Regions from separate parts of the Homo sapiens genome. Here region 1 is linked to region 2. The links are contacts of gene promoters, found by promoter capture Hi-C in blood cells and fetal thymus (Javierre and others, 2016). All regions are on one chromosome and are shown on one strand. The core of a region is centred on a gene start or on the middle of the fragment in contact, and the rest is flanking DNA. Distances in the headings are between cores, read along the strand shown.

What was found. Contacts are between HindIII fragments. The CHiCAGO score rates a contact against its expected background, and 5 or more counts as called.
Region 1: a fragment that was not itself captured here is called in contact with the fragment with the promoter of CEP97 in region 2 in 1 of 17 cell types (total CD4 T cells); the score reaches 5.4 in total CD4 T cells.

Annotation. Positions count from the first base shown.
Region 1 is chr3:102,214,510-102,221,186 of GRCh38, forward strand. No RefSeq gene overlaps it. Among named protein-coding and RNA genes, the nearest start is that of ZPLD1, 220 kb to the right of the region's middle. The HindIII fragment of the contact is 6,610 bases long and covers 229-6,677 here.
Region 2 is chr3:101,721,515-101,728,462 of GRCh38, forward strand. It overlaps CEP97 (centrosomal protein 97), which reads left to right and starts at 3,100. Exons shown (of 11, transcript NM_024548.4): 1 at 3,100-3,205; 2 at 5,080-5,222; 3 at 5,869-6,027. The coding sequence starts at 3,163. RefSeq lists enhancers at 880-939, 3,076-3,445, 3,726-3,795, 3,967-4,578. The HindIII fragment of the contact is 6,095 bases long and covers 201-6,295 here.

The sequences.
Region 1 (6,677 bases), core at 2,284-4,783, 490 kb after region 2:
TATCTCTTTGAGATCTTGAGTTTAATTCTTATATATCCAGAAATGGGATTGCTGGATCATACAGTAGTTCCATTGTTAATATTTTTTAGGAATGGCCATACTGTTTTCCATAGTGGTTGCACCATTTTGCATTCCCATCAAGAATGCTCAAAGGTTCCAATTTCTCCACATCTTCTCCAACATTTGCTATTTTTTAAATCTGTAAAATTCCTTTAAAAAAAGGGAAAAAGCTTCATGATATTGGTCTAGCCAATTTTTTAAAAATGTGATACCAAAAGCACAAACAACAAAAGTAAAAATCTACAAATGGGACTACATCAAACCAAAAGCTCTGCAGAGGAAATTAAGCAATCAACAAAATGAAAAGGCAACCTACAAAATGAAAGAAAATACTTGCAAATCATATATGTGATAAAAGAGTTAACATTGAAATATATAAGGAACTACTATGACTCGATGAAAAAAATCTTATTAAAAATGTACAAAGGATTTGAATAGACATTTCTCCAAAGAACACATACAAATGGCCAACAGGTATATGACAAAGTGTGTAATGTCACTAAACATCAGGGAAATGCAAGTTGAAATCACAATAACATCTAATACCTGTTATGATGGCTATTAGAAAACGAAAACAGAAACAAAAGATACAAAAGATAAGTGGAGCATCACTTTTAATTTGAAGAGACAGATTTTCCTTTCTTTCTTTATTTTAAAAATTATATGCAACAGTGTATTCTACTGATAGCCACATAGCATTAAAGAAAAGCTCAACAAATCTGGATCACATGACTTTTTGTAAAAGGAAAATGGGTATCTTATCAGTAAGCGTGACATCTTTTAAGTACTTTGTCATAGCGGAACTGGGGGAATTTCATGAGGTACAAAAGATTTTTATGGTTACTCTCCACCTCATTACAAAGTATTGTCAAGATCTTGTTTTTCAGAGCCAAAGACAAAAACCACATGATTATCTCAATAGATGCAGAAAAGGCCTTTGACAAAATTCAACAACCCTTCATGCTAAAAACTCTCAATAAATTAGGTATTGATGGGACGTATCTCAAAATAATAAGAGCTATCTATGACAAACCCACAGCCAATATCATACTCAATGGGCAAAAACTGGAAGCATTCCCTTTGAAAACTGGCACAAGACAGGGATGCCCTCTCTCACCACTCCTATTCAACATAGTGTTGGAAGTTCTGGCCAGGGCAATTAGGCAGGAGAAGGAAATACAGGGTATTCAATTAGGAAAAGAGGAAGTCAAATTGTCCCTGTTTGCAGATGACATGATTGTATATCTAGAAAACCCCATCATCTCAGCCCAAAATCTCCTTAAGCTGATAAGCAACTTCAGCAAAGTCTCAGGATACAAAATCAATGTACAAAAATCACAAGCATTCTTATACACAAACAACAGACAAACAGAGAGCCAAATCATGAGTGAACTCCCATTCACAATTGCTTCAAAGAGAATAAAATACCTAGGAATCCAACTTACAAGGGATGTGAAGGACCTCTTCAAGGAGAACTACAAACCACTGCTCAAGGAAATAAAAGAGGATGCAAACAAATGGAAGAACATTCCATGCTCATGGGTAGGAAGAATCAATATCATGAAAATGGCCATACTGCCCAAGGTAATTTACAGATTCAATGCCATCCCCATCAAGCTACCGATGCCTTTCTTCACAGAATTGGAAAAAACTACTTTAAAGTTCATATGGAACCAAAAAAGAGCCTGCATCACCAAGTCAATCCTAAGCCAAAAGAACAAAGCTGGAGGCATCACACTACCTGACTTCAAACTATACTACAAGGCTACAGTAACCAAAACAGTATGGTACTGGTACCAAAACAGAGATATAGATCAATGGAACAGAACAGAGCCCTCAGAAATAATGCCGCATATCTACAACTATCTGATCTTTGACAAACCTGAGAAAAACAAGCAATGGGGAAAGGATTCCCTGTTTAATAAATGGTGCTGGGAAAACTGGCTAGCCATATGTAGAAAGCTGAAACTGGATCCCTTCCTTACACCTTATACAAAAATCAATTCAAGATGGATTAAAGACTTAAACGTTAGACCTAAAACCATAAAAACCCTAGAAGAAAACCTAGGCTTTACCATTCAGGACATAGGCATGGGCAAGGACTTCATGTCTAAAACACCAAAAGCAATGGCAACAAAAGCCAAAATTGACAAATGGGATCTAATTAAACTAAAGACCTTCTGCACAGCAAAAGAAACTACCATCAGAGTCAACAGGCAACCTACAAAATGGGAGAAAATTTTGCAACCTACTCATCTGACAAAGGGCTAATATCCAGAATCTACAATGAACTCAAACAAATTTACAAGAAAAAAACAAACAACCTCATCAAAAAGTGGGCGAAGGACATGAACAGACACTTCTCAAAAGAAGACATTTATGCAGCCAAAAAACACATGAAAAAATGCTCATCATCACTGGCCATCAGAGAAATGCAAATCAAAACCACAATGAGATACCATCTCACACCAGTTGGAATAGCAATCATTAAAAAGTCAGGAAACAACAGGTGCTGGAGAGGATGTGGAGAAATAGGAACACTTTTACACTGTTGGTGGGACTGTAAACTAGTTCAACCCTTGTGGAAGTCAGTGTGGCGATTCCTCAGGGATCTAGAACTGGAAGTACCATTTGACCCAGCCATCCCATTACTGGGTATATACCCAAAGGACTATAAATCATGCTGCTATAAAGACACATGCACACGTATGTTTGTTGTGGCATTGTTCACAATAGCAAAGGCTTGGAACCAACCCAAATGTCCAACAATGATAGACTGGATGAAGAAGATGTGGCACATATACACCATGGAATACTATGCAGCCATAAAAAAGGATGAGTTCATGTCCTTTGTAGGGACATGGATGAAATTGGAAGTCATCATTCTCAGTAAACTATTGCAAGAACAAAAAACCAAACACTGCATATTCTCACTCATGGGTGGGAACTGAACAATGAAATCACATGGACACAGGAAGGGGAATATCACACTCTGGGGACTGTTGTGGGGTGGGGGGGAGGGGGGAGGGATAGTATTGGGAGATATACCTAATGCTGGATGACGAGTTGGTGGGAGCAGCGCACCAGCATGGCACATGTATACATATGTAACTAACCTGCACAATGTGCACATGTACCCTAAAACTTTAATAAAAAAAAAAAGATCTTGTTTTTGTAAAATCAGTTACATCAATGACATTTGGTAGCACTCTGTGCACTTCTTTTTCACCTGCTTTGCTGTATTTTCATCTGCTTTGTCTTTGAACAATGGAGTGCCAAAATTTCATGTGATTTGCTCTCTCTACAACTTACTCTGGAAATTATTATTCTTTCTTATTATAGTCAAAGCTGTTACTCCATCAACAAGTAGTTTAAAATTTTTATACATACATTAGAGAAATAATTTATAAGTAGAAAAGATCATTGAATATACTTTTTGTTATTCTCAATAAAGTTAGTGTTTTATATATATTTATTTATATTTATATATATATAAAATCATTGGAAAAAGTCTAGAATACTAGAATATATCATAAGCTGAAAAACAGATATACTTTTATCCAATTGTATAACAAACTTCCCACACCAGGTAATATTTATTTCTTTAAATCCTCAAGGTTTTTGTGTCTTCCAATAGTATTTTCTAACAAAAGAATGCATTATAATTTGTACCTGTTTTATTTCCCAGGTGTTTTATTTTCCAGATGCATTTACTGTAGAAAGAACAATGTTTCCCAATGGTATATAGTTTTTCTTTAATCCTTAGGTAGGAGATTAAATATTTATTACATATTTAATGAAATATTGTGAAGTCCTGGGTTAGTTATTGCATGATACTTTGAACCACTATTAAAAAAACCTGTTGATATTTGTCTTCATAATTCTGTATGGTGATTTATGCCTTAGTAATTTTGATGGCTTTAAAATGATCATTAATATTTTAAAGTACAAAATCTACTTAGAGAAAGACTAATCTTTAAAGATAGTGGATATAAACTATATTTCATAGAGTCTTCTTGATAATTTTGAATCATTTTATGCAATTAATGTCAGGGTAAATGGCCGTTGTTTTTACCACATCATATGGCTGACAAAGAACTTATTGAAATACATCTATAAAGTATAACATTATCTTGTTTCCTTACATTGTTTGAGGCAACCCATTTAAAAATTTATGTATAACTTTATTATGAAATTTTATACACATAGACAAAAATAGAACATAATGAACCTGATGTGCTTATCTTCCAGCTTCAATAATTATCACTGTATGGCATATCTTATTTCATCTATGCCTCCCTACTTACCTATACTTCAGATTATTTTAAATCAATTTCTAGACAACATATAATTTTATCTATATGGTTCAGTGCATATCTTTAAAAATGATTGTAATACTGACTACATACAAAATTAACAATAAATTTCCAATATTATTAAATATTTAATGTTCAATTTTTTTCTCATTGTTTATAATTTTATTTATATTTTTGAATATAGAAGCAATGGGCTCAAGATACATTTTGAGGATAGATTCTACACTAGTTTCTGTTTGATTGGTTTAATGGTGGAGAAAAGAGAGAGGAATTTGAAGGTGAAACAATTTTCTAGGGGGGTCGTATACTTAAATGAGGACGACTGTAGAGGTAGATTTGGGTGAGAAGATAAAGCATTCAGCTGTGGAAATATCAAGACGGAAACAACATGTTAACATTTGGATGAATAAGCCTGTAACTCAAAAAAGGGGTTGTGGTTTAGAGACATAGATTTGGAAATATATATATCATAGATAATATTTATTTTTTTTACTTCTTTGCCAGCTTCTTTTTTCTTTCTTTTTAAAATTATACTTTAAATTCTGGGATACATGTGCAGAACATGTAGGTTTGTTACATAGGTATACATGGGCCATGGTGGTTTGCCGCACCCATCAACTTGTCATCTAAGTTTTAAGCCCTGTCTGCATTAGGTATTTGTCCTAATGCTCTCCCTCCCCTTGCCCCCCAACCCCCGACAGGCCTCAGTGAATGATGTTCCCCTTCCTGTGTCCATGTGTTCTCATTGTTCAACTCCCACTTATGAATGAGAACATACAGTGTTTGTTTTTCTGTTTCTGTGCTGTTAGTTTGCTGAGAATGATGGTTTCCAGCTTCATCCATGTCCCTGCAAAGGACATGAAGTCATTCTTTTTTATGGCTGCATAGTATTCCATGGTGTATATGTGCCACATTTTCTTAATCCAGTCTATCGTTGATGGGCATTTGGGTTCGTTCAAAGTCTTTGCTATTGTGAATAGTGCTGCAATAAACATATGTATGCATGTGTCTTTATAGCAGAATGATTTATAATCCTTTGGGTATATACCCAGTAATGGTATTGCTGGGTCAAATGGTATTTCTGGTTCTAGATCCTTGAGGAATCATCACACTGTCTTCCATAATGGTTGAACTAATTTACACTCCCACCAACAGTGTAAAATCGTTCCTATTTCTCCACATCCTCTCCAGCATTTGTTGTTTCCTGACTTGTTAATAATCTCCATTCTAACTGGCGTGAGAAGGTATCTCATTGTGGTTTTGATTTGCATTTCTCTAATAACCAGTGATAATGAGTTTTTTTTCATGTTTGTTGGCTGCATAAATGTCTTCTTTTGAAAAGCGTCTGTTCATATCCTTTGCCCACTTTTTGATGAGATTGTTTGTTTTTTTCTTGTAAATTTGTTTAAGTTCCTTGAAGATTCTGGATGTTAGCCCTTTGTCAGATGGATAGATTGCAAAAATTTTCTCCCATTCTGTAGGTTGCCTGTTGACTCTGATGGTAGTTTCTTTTGCTGTGCAGAAGCTCTTTAGTTTAATTAGATCCCATTTGTCAATTTTGACATTTGTTGCCATTGCTTTTGGTGTTTTAGTCATGAAGTCTGTGGCTATGCCTATGTCCTGAATGGTATTGCCTAGGTTTTCTTCTAGGGTTTTTATGGTTTTAGGTTTTATGTTTAAGTCTTTAATGAATCTTGAGTTAATTTTTGTATAAGGTGTAAGGAGGGGATCCAGTTTCAGTTTTCTGCATATGACTAGCCAATTTTCCCAGCACCATTTATTAAATAGGGAATCCTTTCCCCGTTGCTTGTTTTGTCAGGTTTGTCAAAGATCAGGTGGTTGTAGATGTGTGGTGTTATTTCTGAGGCCTCTGTTCTGTTCCATTTATCTATATATCTGTTTCGATACAAGTAGAATGCTGTTTTGGTTACTGTAGCCTTGTAGTATAGTTTGAAATGAGGTAGCATGAGGCCTCTGGCTTTGTTCTTTTTGCTTAAGATTGTCTTGGCTATACGAGCTCTTTTTGGGTTCCATATGAAATTTTAAGTAAATTTTTTCTAATTCTGTGAAGAAAGTCAATGGTAGCTTGATGGGAATAGCTTTGAATCTATAAATTACTTTGGGTAGTATGGCCATTTTCACGATATTGATTCGTCCTATCATTGAGCATGGAATGTTTTTTCATTTGTTTGCGTCCTCTCTTATTTTCTTGAGCAGTGGTTTGTAGTTTTCCTTGAAGAGGTCCTTCACATCCCTTGTAAGTTGTATTCCTAAGTATTTTATTCTCTTTGAAGCAATTGT
Region 2 (6,948 bases), core at 1,850-4,349:
GCGTTGCTGAGTCACTTGGGCATGTGAGACCTTGCCCAGGAACATCTGGCTACTTACTTTAAAAGCCGTGACTATACTTAGCTGCATAAAAAAAGTCCTTTGGTCCTTTCCTCTGGATTCCAGGGCAGATGAACCAGGCAAACAATGTTTCAGCTATTGCTGTAAACTTGCAGGAACCTCTGCTTCTTAAGTACCTTTTAAGCTTCCAGGACTCCCTATCAAGTAATTACCATGCTAAATTGTAAAGAACCATAAACCCTTTCTCCCAGATCCCTATGGCCTATTCCAGGGAATAAGGGTTAGCAGAGGCAGTATTCAGGCTTGCTTTGTTCTTCTTCTTTTGTTTTCTTTTCTCTTTCTTTCTTTTCTTTCTTTCCTTACTTTTTTTTTTTTTTGACAGAGTTCTGCTCGTGTTGCCCAGGCTGGAGTGCAGTGGCACAATCTCCGCTCACTGTAACCTCCGCCTCCTAGATTCAAGCGATTCTCCTGCCTCAGCCTCCCAAGTAGCTGGGATTACAGGCATGTGCAACTATGCCCAGCTAATTTTGTATTTTTAGTAGAGATGGGGTTTCGCCATGTTGGCCAGGCTGGTTTCAAACCCCTGACCTCAGGTGATCCTCCCGCCTCGGCCTCCCAAAGTGCTGGGATTACAGGCGTGAGCCACCGCGCCCGGCCTTACTTTGTTCTTACACATATAGTAAGATTGTGTTCTCTAGGTAAGGAGTTTCTTGGTTAAAAGGAAAAAAATCCTAGTCTTAATTGCCCCTTCAGAACTAGGAAATTTGTCTTTAGACCAAAGCAGCAGGAAACAAGAATCGAAAGGAGTTAAAACAAGTGTAGAGAGATAGGAGAACCCAGGAAAGGGGGAATGCTCAGAGAATCCAGTGCCTGGAAATCTAGAAGCATGAATTACTAGATTTTCCCAAGCAAAAATGATCAGACTTTGCAGATTGCTGTTTCAGAAAGAGGGGAGTTCAGAATAAAGGTTGCAAGAGGAAGTGGGAGAGCTGGTAGTAGAAAGCAGAAGTTTTTTGTATACTCTGTTTAGTTTCTCACTTCCTGTGAGCACAACTTCGTTACCACCTGCAGCCTGTGCTGTCTTTTCACCTTTTACTTTAGAACTAACTGTTCAGTCTACCCATCAAAAGATGGGTACATTTACTTCCTCCATCAAGTCTTCACTGAAGATTTCAGATTCTATTTCTTTCTCAATTCCCTGAAATATTAGTGAGCTCAGTCACAATCACACCGTTTAGCATATAATAGTTGCATCAAAAGAAGGCTCGGCGCCGTTGCTCACGCTTGTAATCCCAGCACTTTGCCGGGCTGAGGCAGAAGGATCACTTGAGCTCAGGAGTTCAAGGCCAGCCTGGGCAAAAAAAAATTGTCTCTAAAAAAAAAAAAAGAAAAAAGTGTGAGCCTGCTTTCTTCCAACTAGGCAATGTATTTCTTGAATTTGGAGACTATATAAAAATATATTTATATACATAATCTATATTTATATATAAATATATAACATATATAATATATAATATATAAATATATAACATATATAATATATAATATATAAATCTATAACATATATAATATATAATATATAACATATATAATATATAATATATAATATATATAACATATATAATATATAATATATAACATATATAACACATATAATATATAAATATATAACATATATAATATATAACATATAACATATATAATATATAAATATATAACATATATAATATATAATATATAAATATATAACATATATAATATATAATATATAAATATATAACATATATAATATATAATATATAAATATATAACATATATAATATATAATATATAAATATATAACATATATAATATATAAATGTATAACATATATAATATATAAATATATAACATATAACATATATATCTAAATATATAACATATATAATATATAATATCTAAATATATAACATATATAATATATAATATCTAAATATATGACATATATAATATATAATATCTAAATATATAACATATATAATATATAATATATAAATATATGACATATATAATATATCTAAATATATAACATATATAATATATAATATCTAAATATATAACATATATAATATATAATATCTAAATATATAACATATAATATATAATATCTAAATATATAACATATATAATATATAATTTATATATAATTATAATATATGCAATATCTATATAAAATATATATATTTTTGAGACATAGTTTCGCTCTTGTTGCCCAGGCTGGAGTGCAGTGGCATGATATCGGCTCACTGCAACCTCTGCCTCCCGGGTTCAAGCGATTCTCCTGCCTCAGCCTCCCGAGTACCTGGGATTACAGGCATGCGCCGCCACGCCAGGCTAATTTTTTTGTATTTTTACTACAGACGGGGTTTCTCCATGTTGGCCAGGCGGGTCTCGAATTCCCGACCTCAGGTGATCAGCCTGCGTTGACCTCCCAAAGTGCTGGGATTACAGACGTGAACCACTGCGCCCGGCCTGGAGATTATATTTTAAAGTTATTTTGAATACTCCCTGGAAAAGTTCTTGGTTCATACTTATACCCGTAAGTCAAAAGATTTGTCAAATATTCAAGAACAATCAAACAATCACTTAAAAATACTGTATAAAAGTTTCTATTTCGGCATACTTTACTTTTACTTAACTAAAATTTCAAATAAAATGTATCCACTTTTATGATCTCAACAAGATCGGTCATTCCTATAGCGGAGTTGAAAACTTTCAACTTATTCACAATTATCAAAAGAATGGAGCAGCCCCCACAGAGACTTCCAGCAATGAGTTGTAAAATGCAGTCTGCATTAAGTAGCTTCCTTACAATCATCCCGATGGTAAAAGTGTCAAATTTCGCAAACGCCTGGACAAGGAAGTGAAATGATCATCTAATAACGCAGTTGACTCATCTGTCAAATAAGCGAGTGGGCCAGGGTCCCTGAGCTCACTACCCTCAGATTCTAACTCCAGCTTCACATCATTAGGCGTAAGCAGCCAATTGGGCCGTCTGGGAGCCGTGCATCCTGGGAGTTATAGTTTCCGGCTCCCTCCTTCAGATTACAAGCTCCACAGAGCCGCGGGAGGACGGTTGCCTGGTATTATTAGCAAGCAGCAAATATGGCGGTGGCGCGCGTGGACGCGGCTTTGCCTCCCGGAGAAGGTAAGGCGATCCCTACCCCGAGTCCTAAGGTTTACTTCACGGAGCTGAATTAAATAGTGGAGAGCAGAAAACCTAGGTTTAGATGTGCAGTTCTGGACCAGTTCTTTTGATGCGGATCTGTGGTCGTCGCGGAGGCGGGCTACCCTCTGGGAGTTGTAGTTCACCTGCCGTTCCCAGCTCTCCGGCGTCGCGGTGAGGGCCGAGCGGGGGACTACAGCCCCCAGAAGCCTTCGCGCGGCCCGGCGCCCTGGCTCCCGCGCTCCCGATGCTGAGGAGGCGGTGGATTTCGGGCTGCGATGACCTTTCTTGACCATTTACTTTGAGTCATGGGTGCCTAAGCGAAATGTTTGGGATCTCCCTCTTTCGCTTCACACATCTCCCTCTCTTCTTGGTTCCTGGAACCATCAGGAAAACCTTCCCTCAGAGACCGCTGCCTAGTCTGGCTTTGAACCCTTCCTCGGAGGTGGCCAGTGGCCGTGATAAAATCTAAGGGATGATCCAGAGCCCGCAGTTCTGTACTCCTTGTTCTTGCACACGGGTCCTAGGATCGAGTTTGGTCGCTGCCCAGTAGAGCACAGGACTGTGTGGGTGCTTCTGTGGCCTGAAGATACCTACCTCTTTGGGGCGCCGGACGCGAGCTGCTTTTGTTTTGGTTACAGCTCCGAGGCTTGGCAGCAGTCAGTCCTCTAAATCGGGGACAGGGCCCAGGGGTCGAGGCCCGTCTTCATGGCTTAGACCAGGAGTGCATTTTCTGGGAGCTGTAAATTCTTGGGGGAAGAGTTGGTGGATGGTTCTCAGACCTCTCTGTCGACCCCTTGGAATTGTGTACAAAGGCTGTGCACTTTTCTGAGACAGCACACCCCTTTCATCAATTTTTCAGAGGGGCTCACGACTCCTCACATGCTAAGAGCCATTAGACAACGGGAAAACGTTGAAATCCTCCAGGAGAGCAATCTGGCATAATTATTTCCTGCAGTAGTCCTAATCTGGGTGTAAATTTGAAATTGGCCGTTTCTCTGGCCCCGCCCTCTTTGGAGATCGGCTTTTCTTAAACCACACCTCTCAAGCCCACCAGGGCTACTTAACTGTTAATAGCAGTTAACATTTACAGAGCACTTTGTATGACCCAGGCGATGTTCTCAGTCCTTTTTTTTTTTGTTTTTTTTTTTACATTATCTCATTTTCTCTGTAGAACTACATTTATAAGGCAGGTATTATCCCCACTTTACAGAGTAGAAAAGGGAGCCCAAAAGAAATCAATAATTTGCCTAATATACCACAATGGTTAATTGGTGGAGCCAGGGTTTGAACGTCTATGTTATACTAAAGTGCCTTATTGAGTGCCCGGTGGCAGGAACGGGGCTAAGTACTATTCATATGGTTTCTCTTTTAATTCTCATATCAAGCTAGGGAAATGGGTGTATTATCCTATTTTATGGGAGAATTAGTTGAACTATACTTTGATTTTCAAAATCACAGTTTGGGCACTTTAGGATATATTGGTAGTTAGGCTGTAAGCTGGTGGATTGCAGTCAAAAGTTTAGTAACATTTAAACAATAGTATCATTACTTAGGCACAACAAATGGAAGTAATCGTCCATATTTAAATGTGAAAATTTTCAAAGTATATCTTAGCAACTTGAGGAGAATATCACACGTCTAGTTTTAATTTGATATTTCTGAAGAAAAATGAGTAATTCAATCTGGTCATTTAGAACTCAAGATTGCTTTAATTTTACAATGTTGATATTTATTATGCTCTACTGTTCTTTAACTTGAAATGGTATAGAGATTTTATAATTCCAGCCCTATGCTTAGCTGTTGTACATGTTTTATTTTATTTGTGTTTTCTAACATTTCCGTTTCTTTTCAAGGATCAGTGGTCAATTGGTCAGGACAGGGACTACAGAAATTAGGTCCAAATTTACCCTGTGAAGCTGATATTCACACTTTGATTCTGGATAAAAATCAGATTATTAAATTGGAAAATCTGGAGAAATGCAAACGATTAATACAGGTAGGTATTGCAATCTGGGAAATGGTTACATAGGATCAATTTATTATTAAACAAAACAATAAAATAACCTGACAAAAAGTAACTGTGCAGCCCTAGCAAGCAGTCATTGTTGCCTTAAATTTTTACATGACAGTTTCTTCTGAAGATGAACATACATGTACTACATTGAGAGTAGATTAGAAAAAAAAAGCATTGTTAAGAAAAGGAAGCATTTTATTTTGCAAAATACTGTGTTACTAAGGTAACCTTTTACCTCATGATGGGGGTAAAGAGTTCATTCATTCCTTCATTCAAGAAATGGTTACTGCGTCCCTCTTATATGTCTGGCACTGTATTAAGTTTTGACTGAGAGTTTAACAGCACTATTCTTGTGGAACTTACATTCTCAAGTTGTTGCTGTGTTAAAAATGTCTTAGTAGTTAGAGGAGGTCTGATCGCTCAGCTTTATCTGTATTTTCTATTGCCCAGGAACAATAACAAAAAACTGATAGTCATACTGTAGAATATTTAGACAATATATGTGAAATGTACAAAAGGAGTTTGTTTGAGAGTGTTTGGCTGTCTAAATAAACCTTTTAAATCACTTTAATGTGAAATATTTTATATATGTTATTCCTAAAAATAACAATATGTTTCCTTTTTACAGTTATCAGTAGCTAATAATCGGCTGGTTCGGATGATGGGTGTGGCCAAGCTGACGTTGCTTCGTGTATTAAATTTGCCTCATAATAGCATTGGCTGTGTGGAAGGGCTAAAGGAACTAGTACATCTGGAATGGCTGAATTTGGCAGGAAATAATCTTAAGGTGAATGGTTTCTTTTTTGTTTACAAAACTATTCTGCGTAAAAAAAATTCAAGCAATGTAGAAATAAGTCAAATTAAAAAGTGAAAGTACCCACTCCCACTCTCCAGGGATAATCTCTGTTAAAATAAACTAAAAATAAATCTCATTTTGAAACATATAATATGACATAATATTCTTTTAAATTTGAACAAAGAATCTATATTGTACTTAGAAAAAAGTAGATCAAACCATAGAGTGTTTAGGAGGGAGACTATATCATGCTGAATTAAGCTTTAAGTAAATGTTTAATGCTATAAGGGAGAATATACAGTTTTAAAAGTTAGGAGATCTGAATTCTAGTCCTACTTGCACTACTTAGTAACTGTGTAATTTTGGGTAAATTAATACATATTTCTGCGTCTTATTTTTTGGCATGCTAGCTGAGAGGACTAGATTACCAATAGCTGCCTTTTATTGAGCCATTAATGTATCTGAGCTACTGTTCTAAACATTTATCTGTATTAACTTATTCAATCTCATGGTAGCCTGCGAAGTAGATATAGACATTATGCGTGTTATAAAGGTGAAGGAACTAAAGCACAGAAAAGTAACTTGCTCAAGGTCACACAGCTAGGAAGTTGCAGGGCCAGAATGTAAATCCAGGCTGTTTGGTTTTAATCTAAACTTGTAAACTCTATTCTATACCACCAACTGTCATATATTATTACTATGGTTTCTTTTGTTTTTTTTTTTTTTTTGATGGAGTTTTGCTCTTATTGTCCAGGCTGGAGTGCAGTGGCACGATCTTGGCTCACTGCAACCTCTGCCTCCTGGGTTTAAGCAATTCTCCTGCCTCAGCCTCAAGAGTAACTGGGATTACAGGCGCCTGCCCACCATGCCTGGCTAATTTTTAGTATTTTTTTAGTAGAGACAGGGTTTCGC